Linked DNA regions of Homo sapiens: all the other regions are linked to region 3. The links are contacts of gene promoters, found by promoter capture Hi-C in human tissues and cell types (Jung and others, 2019). All regions are on one chromosome and are shown on one strand. The core of a region is centred on a gene start or on the middle of the fragment in contact, and the rest is flanking DNA. Distances in the headings are between cores, read along the strand shown.

Region 1 (4,873 bases), core at 495-2,994, 370 kb before region 3:
ATTCTATTGAGACAATTTTGAGTCAATCTACTTTGTACTTGACAGTTTAAACCCAAATTTAACATGAGTGAAGTCAAACCAATCAACAGTAACGTAACAACTTGAAGGGAGGCCTTGCTGTTTCATTACTCTTGCACATAGTAGGGAGCAAAGCTCAAACAGTTAAAAAATAAAATCTGATTCATTCTATTAAATCAATGGCAAAAATACACTCAAAAGGTCGACTTAAGAAACATGTTTAACAAATATTAGTAAATCCTGTTCCTAATTACCAGGGGAAATTTCAGAAGAGTGTGATGGCCTCTATGACGCTTAATTCTAACACTCAACACTCAATTCACTAATTCACTGGTCAGTACAGATAAATAACAAATAATTTTTCTTTCAACTTGATAGATATCAACCGTTTCTATTGGGTTGAATCTACCATGATATAGTGCAGATTTGGGTCTGTAAAATCTTGCACGGGCTCCATTATCTTCCTAAACTATTCCAGGGGTGCTGTATTCCACCGGCTCTGGGTTAGAACGTTCCCAACCGCAGTGATTTGTGACTTCAAAGAACACCCTCGAGAAGGGGTTCCAAAGGTTTTCAGGCTTTAGGGGAGCAACGCGGAATAACCAAATTCTGCATGGATCGGAGTGACGACCCCGATAAGCTAGTTTTTAGAAGCAGGAAGACTCCCCTCTGGGGCAGCCAAGTAGGTAGCACTAGGCTGGGGGGCAAAGAGGCAGGTACCGTTTCCTTCCTGGGGCCCGCAGGTGCAGTCGGCCCCCAGCTCCGCCGACACCTCCACCGCCCTCTGCAGCAGGTAGCGCGCTCGCTTGCGCGTCAGGGCGTCCGCCTGGCCCAGCCCCGCCTGCACCGTCCTCCAGAAGCGCCAGCAGCGCCGGGCGTCCGGGCCCGCCTCGCGCGCGCCGCGGGCGCGGTCGCCGCCGGGCTCGGGCAACAGCTTCTCGGCCAGGGCGCTCAGGACCAGCAGCTTCTCCTCTACGCGGCCGGACCCCAGGGACGCCCCAGGCGCGGCCAGCCCGCCCCACACGGCCCGCAGCGCCGCCCCGCCACATTGGACCAGCACTGGCAGCAGTCGCCCGGCCACCAGCGCCGCCGCGTCCTCGGCAGGCCCGGCCTCATCCCCGTCCCCGCCCCCGCCCAGCGCCAGGGCGACGGCGGTCCCCGCCACGCGCTCCAGTAGCGGCCCGTCCTCGCGGGGCCGCAAACATGGCCCGACGGCTGCTAGCACTTCCACGGCAGCCTCGGCGCCAGGCGCGCGCCACCCGGCGAGCAGATCGCGCAGCGCCTCCTCAGCCAGCGCGGCCGCCAGCTGCGGACGCCCGGCCAGGCGGACGCACGAGCGCAGGGCCGCGCCCGCCGCCCTCAGCACGCGCCGGCGGTGGCGAGGCTGCAGACTGGGGTCCGGGCCGCCCGCGGGGCGTCCGCGCAGGCTCCGCAGCAGTGGCACGAGGTACCCTGCAGCCACCTCGCGCGCCGCCTCCGGGAGCGCGCCTGCGCCCCCGCTGCCGCGCGCCTCCTCGTCCTCGAGCCGCTGCAGAAGGAAGCGCAGCGTCTCCACGCGCTCCGCGGATGCCTCCCCTTGGCACAGCGCCCCAAGCAGGGCCCGGGGGTCCCGGCTCTGCGAGAGCAGCGCTTCCGCGAGCACCCACTCCATTTGCCGAGCGCCCGCGCCACCGGCCCGGGCTCCCAAAGGAAGGCGCCGGCGTGTGCGATGCGTGCGCACAGGACCGGCCGGCCCCTACGTGCGCGTGCGCCGACGGAGCCGGGCGCGCGGCCGCAGAGAGGGGGATCCCAGCCCGGCTTGGTGCAGCTCAGCTTCCCTTGGGTTCCTGCCACCAACCCTGCCTAGATAGAACCCACCTGGTCTCTTATTTTTAGGAGAAACGAGGCCTTCGTTAAAAGTTAATGTAGTATCTACACCAGCTTCATCGATTCCTGATTGGAGGTTGGTCTGCCCAGGACCCTAAATCAGGCGTGCCTGTGAGCATAAACCAGTTCACAGAAGGTGCACAGCAGAATCACTTTAGATTATTTTCCAAACGTTGCATGATGGGCACCATCCACAAAGAGACTGACACAGTAGGTCTGAAATTGGTTCTGGACATCTGCATTAAAAATAAGTCATGAAAACACAAGAATGATTTAGACGTAAGGCCAGGAGTGAGAAGTGTTACCGGTGGAGGGTGTCCAGGTCCAAGAATTGGACAAAGCGCACAAACAAAGCAAAGACAGAATGAAGCCACAAAAGCAGAGATTTATTGCAAAAGTACACTCCACAGGGTGGGGGCAGACCCAAGCAAGCCGCTCAAGGGGGGCTGGTTACAGAATTTTCTGGGGTTTAAATACCTATAGAGGTTTCAATTGGTTACTTGGTGTACACACTATGTAACTGAAGAGGATAAAATGAAGTTACAAAGTTATTTACTTGGTGTACTCCCTATGTAAATGAAGAGGATATTTCCTGTCATAGCTGAAGTGTTTCTATCTGATTTGGTTCTAGGGAGTTTTTGGATTCCCTGCCTCCAGGCCCTATTCTCCTGCCTTAGAGGTACCTATAGCAATGTGCTAGGATTCAGCTAAAACCAAGATGCCCACGCCAGCCCTCACAGCCAAGTGCCCAAGATGACTCCAGGATGCAGAGCCTCCTGCACAATGCATGTGCTCCCATGTGCAAACTCAAAAATAGTCCCTGTGTCTGTCTTTTCTGTATTTCTGACAGCATCCATTGCTAAATAGAGAAACAGAAAACCTCACCTCGGCATGCATGGTGTGGATTTGGTTCCTGGCTCAATTTGAGACAAACTAGATCAGTGACATAGGGTTTTCTTCGCTACTAAACACAAAGATCTGCCTCTTAGTCAATAGAGAAAACAGGGTCCCAACTTCAAAGAGCTTGACATATAATAACATAATGGATAAGACAAAAATTAGTTATTTAAATTTACAGTTATTTTTATATAAAGTTATCTGACTTTAAGGTTATCTGACATTACACAGGCAAGACTTTTTTCATATTTCAGTCATTCCGTTTTTCATTGACAAAATGCATAAATGTTTCTATTTTAAGCCCTTTTAACATGTCAGTAAATATCAATTACCTTCAACATAAAATGTGCAGAAAACTATTGTTTCTGTCAACATATATCTAACAAATATAAATGGGTAAATGTCTTGAGCACTTAACAAACGAAGATACACAAATGATAAGCACTTGGAAAAGTGTTCAACATCATTAGTCATCAGAGAAATGCAAATTAAACCCACAATGAGGTACCACTTCATACTGATGAGAATGGCTAACATGTAAAAGCTCGAAAACACTAAACGGCAAAGACCAAGGGTGTGGAGCAACTGGAATTCTCATACATTACTGGTGGGCATGAAAACGGTACAGTCACTTTAGAAACTGTTTCTCGTAAAGTTATAATATAGCTGCTTTATGATTCAGCGATTTCACCCCCAGGTAATTACCTAAAATAAATGAAAACATGTTTCAAAAAAAAAAGCTTGCAGAAGAATGTTTTTGACAACATTATTCGTTATAGCCAAAAGCTTATAACAACCTAGTAGGTGTTAGGTAACAACCTACATGTGCATCAAATTGAAGAATGAATAAAAAATTGTGATCTATCTATATAATAATGCTCCCAGCAATAAGACAATGAATTGCTAATCCGCTTTACATGGATAAGTCTCAGAAACAATATGTTAAACAAAGGAAGCCAGTCACAACGTTTACATCCTCGTGATTTCATTTATATGAAATCCAAGAAGAGACAAAAGTAATCTGAAGGATAGAAATGAGAACAGTAGTTGCATATAGGGAGTAGAGATTTGACTAGAATTGGGCACAAGGGAACTTTCTGGGGTGATGAAAATATTTTATGTTGATCAGGGTGTTGTTACACATTTGTCAAGACTCCTTGAACTGAACCCTTAAGATCTATGCATTTCGCTCTGCAGAAAGTTTACCTCAATCAGCCGGGCGCAGTGGCTCACACCTGTAATCCCAGCACTTTGGGAGGCCGAGGCCGGTGGATCATGAGGTCAGGAGATTGAGACCATCCTGGCCAACATGGTGAAACCCCATCTCTACTGAAATACAAAAAAATTAGCTGGGCATGGTGGTGCACGCCTGTAATCCCAGCTACTCGGGAGGCTGAGGCAGGAGAATTGCTTGAACCCAGGAGGCAGAGGTTGCAGTGAGCCAAGATCACACCACTGCACTCCAGCCTGGAGACAGAGTGAGACTTGGTCTCAAAAAAAAAAAAAAGAAAGTTTACCTCAATCTTGAAAAATGACTTATACCAAAAAACAAAACAAAACAAAACAAAACAAAAAAACAAGTTGGCCTATGTGTTTTATTCTCTGTTGCCTTCAGAGTAAAGCCTAACTGCAGAGCACAGCATTGAAGGCTTATTGGGATTGGGGAAAAGCCAGCTGGCCTCACAGCCTGACTCCCCCTTCTCTGCCCCAGGTCAGGCATGTGGAACTCTCCTTCTTACCCACAACATGTTTGCACTGTCTTCTCTCCCGGAATATTTCCCGCAACACCACTTTTCTGATTCACCAATGTGGGCAGCGATTCCTAATTGCCAGAGCTGCCCTTTTTCGTTCTTACCTGAATGGACTCTGTGGAGTATTTCCTATTTCTTGAAACACTATCTCACTCTGGTTTTCATCGATGACTTTGTCCTGTTCTTTCTTTTCTCTGCTTCCTCAGCTGTTTCTTCTCCCTTTCTTTCAGCATCTTATTTTTCCTCCTGACCTGTCCATAGTGATATTTCCAGGGTTTTATCTTCAGGTCTCTCTTCTCCTCACTCTGTAAATTTTCTCTGAATAACTTCATTAACACTAT
Region 2 (4,484 bases), core at 1,985-4,484, 470 kb before region 3:
CATTTGCATTTGGTGCTGTGCCTATTTAAGCTTTTTGCCCATTTTCAAAATGGGCAAGTCTATTTCTTATTGATTTGTGTTATTTGTATATTCTGGATACTAATCCTTTTTCACTTGCTTCATGGTATTGTTTGGTAAACAAAAGTCCATTACTTTTATGTAGCCCAATATTTTTATGTATGTAACACATCTTTTTTTTTTTTTTTTTTTTTTTTTTTTTGACGAAGTCTCTCCCTGTTACCCAGGCTGGAGTGCAATGGCATGATCTCAGCTCACTGCAACCTCCGCCTCCTGAGTTCAAGCAATTCTCCTGCATCAGCCTCCTGAGTAGCTGGGATTACAGGCACACACCACCATATCCGGCTAATTTTTTGTATCTTTATTAGAGACGGGGTTTCACCATGTTGGCCAGGCTGGTCTCGAACTCCTTACCTCATGATCCGTCTGCCTCAGCCTCCCAAAGTGCTGGGACTACAGGCGTGAGCCACCGCACCCGGCCACATCATTTGATAATTACTGAGACTTTCCTTTATGGCTAAAAATTCCTCTTAACCTAAGTCATAAAGATTTTTTCTTATATAGGTCCACATAACTCACCTGAAATCCCTGGAGCCAGATGTTTGAAATATAGACTATTTTAAATATTAGAAGGGTAGTATGAAACATACAACATATATTGTATAATATTCTCAACAAGAACTGGGACAGTACCCATAATGAAATACATTAATATTTCTACCGAAAAGCATATGCAGTCACCTAAGTGATAATAACAACTATAAAGAGCCTCATGTTACTTTAAGTCGTATTTTTCACCAAATGAGTTCCAAAGTGTGTGGTGTTTCAGAGGTTTGGGGATTTTATAATTAGTACAAAAGTTATGGTAGCCTTATTCAGTAAGAATGGAATGATTTCAAAGTTTGTAGGAACTTACTGGTGGAGCCACGTACCTGGGATTTGTGTGTATGAAGATTCTTCACTACTCATTCAAATTATGTAATAGTTTCTCTACTTTTGAGTTGTTTTTCTTGAAGTTTGTACAGTCATCTAAATCTTATTTGCACTAAATTGTTTACAAGATTATCTAACTTTTTTGATGTCTATAGTATTTCTAGTTTCCATTCTTGATAAAGATTGTTGACATCCCTCCTTTTATAGCTATTAGATGTTTGCCAATTTTAATTTTTCTTTTCCAAAAAAAATCAACTTTTGGCTTCTTTCAACCTATTCTATGCTGTGGTGTGCTAGTGAGTTAGCTCCAAACATAAAATCCTGGCTTGTTGATTTCCATAGTGTAAACAGTCCCATCATGGTTGACTTCAAGCTACTTATTTGAATTGGCTCCAAACATAAAACAAAATCCTGGCTTGTTTGTTGAGTTCCATAGTGTAAACAGTCCCATCGTGGGTGACTTCAAGCTACTTATTTGATGTTATTGATCATGGAGTTGCCAAGAGGTGTGCACAATTGGCTCTCCTATGCCAGTACAGGCTGGCTCTGGTACACCACTGCTTTTATTTTCCATTTCGTTAATTTCTGCTCTTAACATTATTTCTGTCCTTCTATTTTCTGTCTTATTTTGCTGTCCTTTTTCTAACTTCTTGAAAAGGGATTTTCAGCTCAAGACTTTTCAGACTCTTCTAATACACTTACTTATGGCTATAAATGTCCCTGTAAGTGCTGCTTCAGTTTCATCCCACAGGTGTTGCTATTGTTATTTTATGGTTCAGTTCAAAATATTTTCTCAATACCATTGACTCTGTCTCTGTGTTATTCAGGCTTGTTTTTACAGTTCTTTATTGATTTCTATCTTAAATGCACTGTAGTAAAAAATGACAATTATTTCAATTTTCAAAATTTCTTGAGTTGCTTTATAACTAAGTATGTGGTTGACTGTGGTGATGTGTCTGCTTTCAAAAAACTGTACATTCTGATTTTGGTCGTGTTGTTCTGTACATATTAATTGCGTCATTTTTACATCATGTTATTCACGTTTCCTATATCCTTAACTTTTCTCTTGCTAGTCTTAACGATTAGTGAGAAAGTCCTGTTAAAATTACCCAATATGACCAGGCATTTTTTTTCTTTGTAATTCTGTCACTTCACTTTGTTTCATATGTATTTTTCATTAGGTACTTATAAATTTTAAATTTAAAACACATTTCCTTTTTAGACTCAGAAGTCATCTAAGACTCTTTCCTTTCATTCCTTTTATATCCCATCAGTCATATTTAAAAGATATCTATATGTAAACTGACGTCAATAGACATGATGTAAAAGAAGGGGGTGGCTCTGGTAAAGCTAAAGTAACTCCACTATGAGAGTGCATTAACTATGGGGGAAATACTTTCTATATTGCAGAACACATATTTGGTGGTACGTAGCCTCACATCGCCACCCGGAAAAGTCTGCATATATTGAATTTGGAATGGATCAAACTGCACTGAGTGCAAAATTGTAAATTGCATCTTATATAAATGTTTTAGAACTAGATGATGGAGCAGATGGGATCTATTAAGAGAACGGGGTGCCAGATGACTGACCATAAACATGCTTTTTAATAAAGACTCTGCTGAGAGATTAACTCATATATTTTCTAAAATTTTTATTTCTTGTTCATTTTGTTTCTAAGATATTCACTCACATATTAAAAATAACAACGTCTCAAAACATTTGAAGCAACTCTCTTCATCCCTTTTAAAAATACCTTGCTGTTTCGGGGGTTAAAAAAAGCCACAAGGGAGATTAAAACAATACAAATATTTATTTTCCCAACTCCCCTGCCATGGGTTCTGGGACGTCACCGCCTCTTTCTGGGGCCCGTTTCATCCTTTTCTTTTAATCCAAGAAGCGATGGTGTTGTGCGCCTGTAGTCCCAGCTACCTGGGAGGCAGGCTGAGGTGGGAGGATCTTTTGGGTCCAGGATTTTGAGGCTGCAGTAAGCCGTGTTCTCACCACTGCACTCGAGACTGGGCGGAAGAGCGAGACACTGTATCAAAAACAAAACAAAACAAAACGAGAAGGCATCGCGGCTCTGTAACACTCCGTCCAGCTCTCGCACTCTCAGATGCAAACTTCCACACAAACTCCTCGGCTCGCCTTGTCCCGCGGGACTAGCATATCAAGCCTTCCGGGACACACCGTGCGATGATATATACGTATATACCCCTCTTGCCCTTGAAGGCCGGAAGTCGGTCTTACAGATAAAAGCGAAACAGGAAGTCCCGCCCCTCTATGGAAAGTAAATGGTAGCTCGGAAGGGTCAAAAGAGTCCGCGGTTTCGCCGCGTGAGTTGCTTTTTGCGGCTGGGGAGGTCTACGCTTCTAGAGCTTGAGCCAGCGGGGCGACCCTGCAGTGGCAGGACTCGGCACCGCGCCCTCCACCGCCGGTTGGTGGCCTGCGTGACAGTTTCCTCCCGTCGACATCGAAAGGAAGCCGGACGTGGGCGGGCAGAGAGGTCGGCTTGCTGATGGGTCCGGGTGGGGCGCGCGTGGACTATGGGCCCGGGAGGTCCCTTACTGTCCCCGAGCCGCGGGTTCCTCTTGTGCAAAACGGGGTGGCACTCCAATCGCCTGCTTGGTGATTGTGGCCCCCACACACCTGTTTCTACAGCGCTTAGGTTCGAACAGTAACCCTGTAAACTAGGCACTGCTGTCCCCGCTTTACTGGTGGGAAACGGGCTCGGAGAGAATAAATGAGCTGCCCTAAGCGACTGGGACAGAACCACAGTTCTCAGCCGGGCTTTCTGAGCCCACGCTGCCGCCCCAGCAGGGATCAAATCACACAGTGTGAGATAAGCCTCAAGAGCGGGTGGCCTTATGCTGCCACTGAGAACTGATTGGGTTCAGTTGCCTCATCAAAATCCCTAAGCATGGTTTTGTTTTGTTTTTGTTTTTTTTTTTTTTTTTAGTTTTAAAGGAAGAGGAGATTGACGGTTTTCCTCTTTCCTTATCTTCTCTTCAGATTACAAAGTTCATTGTTAATCTCAAATATTATTTTGGCCAACAGCTTCATCGCAGTAGGAATGGCAGCCCCATCTATGAAGGAAAGACAGGTCTGCTGGGGGGCCCGGGATGAGTACTGGAAGTGTTTAGATGAGAACTTAGAGGATGCTTCTCAATGCAAGAAGTTAAGAAGCTCTTTCGAATCAAGTTGTCCCCAACAGTGGGTAAGTCACACTTTGATGTGTTTCTCTTCCCTGTTAAGATACATCGAGCTTATACTGTGAGTGGTAGGCTGACATGAAGCGCTCTCTGAGGCATGTCAATTAACAGTTTCTTTGAGGCGCAGAGAAAACCTTGCCTGGTAATTCAGCCTTATTTGACGCACTTACATCAGCTAGATCTTTGGAGAATGTCAACTGACACATTAAAGAGCATCGAAAAACACAACAAACATATGAACAGTAACCAAAAAATTCCAGTTCATTTCACTGGTAGACTTTTCCAGGATCTTCTGAAGGGGTAGTATTTAATCTTGGGCAG
Region 3 (4,457 bases), core at 177-2,676:
GTTGAACTAATTTACGCTCCTACCAACAGTGTATAAGTGTTCCCTTTTCTCTGCAACCTTGCCAGCATCTGTTTTTGTTTATTTTTGATAATAGCCATTCTGACCAGTATGAGATGGTATCTCATTGTGGTTTCAATTTGCATTTCTCTAATGACCAGTGATGTTGAGTTTTTTTCATATGCTTGTTGACTGCATGTGTGTCTTCTTTTGAAAAATGTCTGTTAATGTTCTTTGCCCACTTTTTAATAGGGTTGTTTTTGTCTTATAAATTTAAGTTCCTTATAGATGCTGGATATTAAACCTTTGTCAGATGCATAGTTTGCAAATATTTTCTCCCATTCTATAGGTTGTCTATTTACTCTCTTGATAGTTTCTTTTGGATGGCAGACTTTTCGGTGACAACAATAGAAGTCAGAAGTCACTGGGATATTTTCAAAGCACTGAGAAATAAGCAATGATCTTAGTCTGCAAACTAAAAATAGTAAAGAAACAAACTAAGGCTAAGTTGCAGATCATGCCTAGTGTTACTCATATGAAGTTATACATGTATGAAGAGCTGGATCCATGGAGGTGTGACTTGGGCAGTTACACAGGGTGCCGCTCTTGGTCTGATGCTCTGTTGTCACAAGCTTGAAATTCTTAATAATGTTTTAACAAGGAGCTCTGAAGTTCTGTTTCTCACTGGGCCTTACAAATTATGTAGCCAGCCTTGTATGTAGGCCCTGAAGACCTGGTATCACTCAGAAACAAGGAAATCGCATTCTATACAATGTGTGGTCAGGCTTAGTAAAATGAAGCAAATGTTAAGCAGAGAAACCTAGGTCTTGTAGCTTGAAAGACAGAAAGAGGGGTTTATGCAAACATATTTGATAAACTTTGTCCACTGAAAGTGTTCAAGTCCTTTGTACATGAGAAGGGAAGGATGAGCCAAGCACCGGCAAGAATGGTCCCAAGAAGGAATGAGAAAGTCACCAAAATGCCAACATCTGTTAAGCCAGGTGATTTGCACCATGTACCAAGGATCTGAACATAAGAGAGGAGTAGATAGTGCTCCCTTTAGCAGCATAGGTACTAAAAAAAGGAGTGGAGAGAGAAACAGACAGTGGCAAGAAAAATGCCTTTCTCAAAGACATCTAGATAAACACTCACCATCAGAAGTATCAGTGATATCTGAATATTGGTACAAATCAGACAGCTAGAAACAATAATACCAGTTTAAAAAATCTAGGTCCTTCAAATTAGACAAGGCCCTTATAATAGGTATAATGAGGAAAAGATACTGTAAAACCTTTCATGATCAATCTAATTGTTCAATTCTTTCATTATCAGGAGATTCGGGTAATATTAGAAGGTACCTTAAAAGGGAGGAAAAAGGAGCAATATTAGTATGAAACTATCTGATTCATTATTTTTTCAAAGACTCAAGTTTATGGCCCTCGATGATAATGGATTCTATCCATTAAAACAGTTTTTCACTATTACCCTGACTTCTGAGGAAATGTGGAGTTAATTGGTCTATTTGCATTGTATTTGCAGCCATCTTGGTCCATTAGACAGAAAAGTATCACAACATCTATTAGATAGTACCATTTTTAGGACTAAAAATTCAGAGTTTCAAAACAGGCTTGTAATATCAAAACTAAAATGGAAATTTTTCATCTGTAGTTTTTCCAAGGTTGTGTGGGGTTAGATGTGATAACATGGTGCACCAAGGTGAAGTGGCAGATGAGAGAGACAGAGAATACAATGACTGCAAGTCTGTATTTGGTTCTGGGAGCCAAGTCTGCAGTAGATCTAGAGAGAGTTTTTATAGGAACTATCTGCGACTATCCTAGTTTAGGTTGAAAGAGGAGATTTCCCAGGAAGTAAAATTAATAAGCATTTGGAAAGAGACTATTTGGATATAAGTCACGATTTTCATACTGGAATGGGAGGGTATGGAGTCTCCTCTTCTGGATGTCTTTGAAAAAAAATCAATTCTTTAATAGTTGAGGACACTATTTCCCAAGCTGGGATTTCTGTTCTGTGTGGCATGGTAACAGGAGTGGTACTTGGGGGACTGGAGGGATGAGTTCAGAAAGGGCTCCCCACATGGGTTGGCATGAGCATTGCCGGAGTGTCCACCAAGCCTGCATGTCTCCTTCCTTCTACTCACACTTCTCCTCATTTCCCTAGAAAACTCCCTGAAAACGCCTATCTTGGCCAGTTTCTCTCCTTGCTGGGACTAGCTGTGATGTGGAGGTGACAAGATGTTTGTGCATAAAAGGCTTAAATAAGGGACATTAAGTATCAGGGCTTGCCTAAAGATGCAAAAAATGGTCGTGTCATCATGGCCTCCTCTTAAATTCTTAGACTCTTCCTCCTTCGAAGATTCCTTCAGATTTGCTTTGGTGGCCAAACGTCTGCTCCTTCCTCTTTTTTTGTACAGTGTCTTGAGTAAACAATGACACTTCTAGCCAGCATTTGCTTCTCTGCGTGCTTTGAGGATGTAGATTTTGTGGAAATAAAAAAAAAGAGAGAGAACTTTCTGCTGCTTTCCCATGCAAGGAAGGCTGAGGTTTAGCAGTGGTTTGTGTGTTGGGTTTTAGCCAGATGCCCTGGATGAACCACATGGATGAATTCTTTTTCAGCAGGATGAGTGCATCACCTTGGCTACCCAATGAATCAGACCTAATTAAAAGACAAAGTAAGCACACTGCAAAAATGCTAAGGATAAGAGGAAGAGGGTAAGATGAGGTAAGTAATGGGTCATTAAGATAATGAACACAAAGGGGACAAAGGATAGCAATTTTAAAGTCCTGGCATTGCATTCTAGAAGAGACCTGGTTCACTCTTCTCCCATACGTGGTCTAGTTGGTGAGGACAGCAACCCAGGGATGAATGAGCAGCTTAGGACAAGCAGTCAAACTTTCAAAGTCAAGATCTTTAAACGCTCTTAGGAGCTGGTGCCCACTGAACAGAGAGGGACACTTTTTCAGGCGTGGCACAGATATGCAGGAAGTGTTTGAACATTTCCAGGAAGTTTCTGGTGGAAAAAATCAGAAAGCAATTTCGCCCTCACGTTTATTGCTAATTTATGTGCTCTGTATTGACTGGATGTGCCTGTTGCATAGCAACCCATGGACATGTTTGCAGGAGTCATAATTTTTAAGAAGGAAAGTCCCTGCTGTTTGACTTCGAATCCATCCTCTGCAAATGCGGTGTTTCAGGGGACCATTTTGTATGCCTGCTTGTTTTCCCTTCCATCAAAGCTTCTTTTTTGGAGTCTCGCTCTGTCACCGAGGCTGGAGTGCAGTGGCGCAATCTTGGCTCACTGCAACCTCCGCCTCCTGGGTTCAAGTAATTCTCCTGCCTCTGCCTCCCAAATAGCTGAGACTACAGGCGTGTGCTACCAAGCCCAGTTAATTTTTGTATTTTTAGTAGAGATGGGGTTTCGCCATGTTGGCCAGGCTGCTCGCAAACTCCTGGCCTCAAGTGATCGGCCCACCTCTGCCCATAAAAGCTTCTGGTAATGGCTCATGAGTGTGCCATTCGGAAGGACTCTTCAGTCAAGCCTTCAACAACCTAACCCTAGAGTTAAAACTGGTAAACTTTGTATAGAACTGTAAAACTAATGACACTTGCGTGAATCTTTACACTGCAGTAATAGAGGATATGCATGTTACATACATAGGCACAGACACACCCGGCCTGCCAAGAACAAACATGTCATTATTATTTTTTAGCCTGAAATTTTAAAAGTTCTTTAAAACACACGGTTTGAGGAGCTTAACACAAAGACTCAAGGCCGTAAGAATTACATTTTCATCCAGGTGCTGTGGTTCATGCCTATAATCCCAGCACTTTGGGAGGCTGCGGCAGGAGGATTGCTTGAGGCCAGAAGTTGTAGACAAGCCTGGTCAACATAGTGAGACCTTGTCTCTACAAAATACTAAATAATAAATTAAAATAAATTTTTTTTAAAAAGCTCAGGAATGGTGGTTCACACCTGTAATCCCAGCACTTTGAGAGGCTGAGGTGAGTGGCTCACCTGAGGTCAGGAGCTCGAGACCAGCCTGGGCAACATGGCAAAACCCTGTCTCTGCAAAAAAATACAAAAATTAGCTGAGAGTTGTAGCATGCACCTGTAATCCCAGCTACTCGGAAGGCTGAGGCACAAGAATCGCTTGAACCTGAGAGGTGGAGGTTGCAGTAAGCTGAGATCGTGCCACTGCACTCCAGTGTTGGTAATAGAGCCAGACGCCATCTCAAAATAAATAAATAAGTAAATAATTTAAAAAATTTTTTAATTAAAATAAAAGCCAAGTGTGGTTGGGTGCACCTGTGGTCCCAAGTACTCAGGAGGCTGAAGCCAAAGGATGGCTGGAGCCCAGGAGCCAGAGGCTACAGTGAGCCACAATCATGCCACTGCACTCCAGCCTGGGTAACAGAGCAAAACCCTGTCCAAAAAAAAAAAA

Evidence for each region. Contacts are between HindIII fragments. The study calls those that stand out against the background at their distance.
Region 1: the fragment with the promoter of TARBP1 here is called in contact with a fragment that was not itself captured in region 3 in 1 of the 25 tissues and cell types used here (mesendoderm cells).
Region 2: a contact is called between the fragment with the promoter of COA6 here and a fragment that was not itself captured in region 3, in 1 of the 25 tissues and cell types used here (H1 embryonic stem cells).

The regions. Positions count from the first base shown.
Region 1 is chr1:234,477,435-234,482,307 of GRCh38, forward strand. TARBP1 (tRNA guanosine 2 -O-methyltransferase TARBP1) reads right to left here and starts at 1,745. Exons shown (of 30, transcript NM_005646.4): 1 at 739-1,745. The coding sequence starts at 1,669. RefSeq lists silencers at 842-1,641, 1,672-1,861. The HindIII fragment of the contact is 15,490 bases long and covers 1-4,800 here.
Region 2 is chr1:234,370,222-234,374,705 of GRCh38, forward strand. It overlaps COA6 (cytochrome c oxidase assembly factor 6), which reads left to right and starts at 3,235. Exons shown (of 3, transcript NM_001206641.3): 1 at 3,235-3,457; 2 at 4,009-4,168. The coding sequence starts at 3,246. COA6-AS1 (COA6 antisense RNA 1) reads right to left here and starts at 3,372. Exons shown (of 2, transcript NR_125961.1): 1 at 3,202-3,372; 2 at 2,586-2,989. RefSeq lists enhancers at 2,423-3,247, 3,069-3,618. The HindIII fragment of the contact is 13,687 bases long and covers 1-4,484 here.
Region 3 is chr1:234,846,947-234,851,403 of GRCh38, forward strand. The region is part of intron 2 of LOC107985365 (a long non-coding RNA gene); the gene reads right to left. Among named protein-coding and RNA genes, the nearest start is that of LINC02961, 89 kb to the left of the region's middle. RefSeq lists a silencer at 2,256-2,550. The HindIII fragment of the contact is 3,900 bases long and covers 1-3,376 here.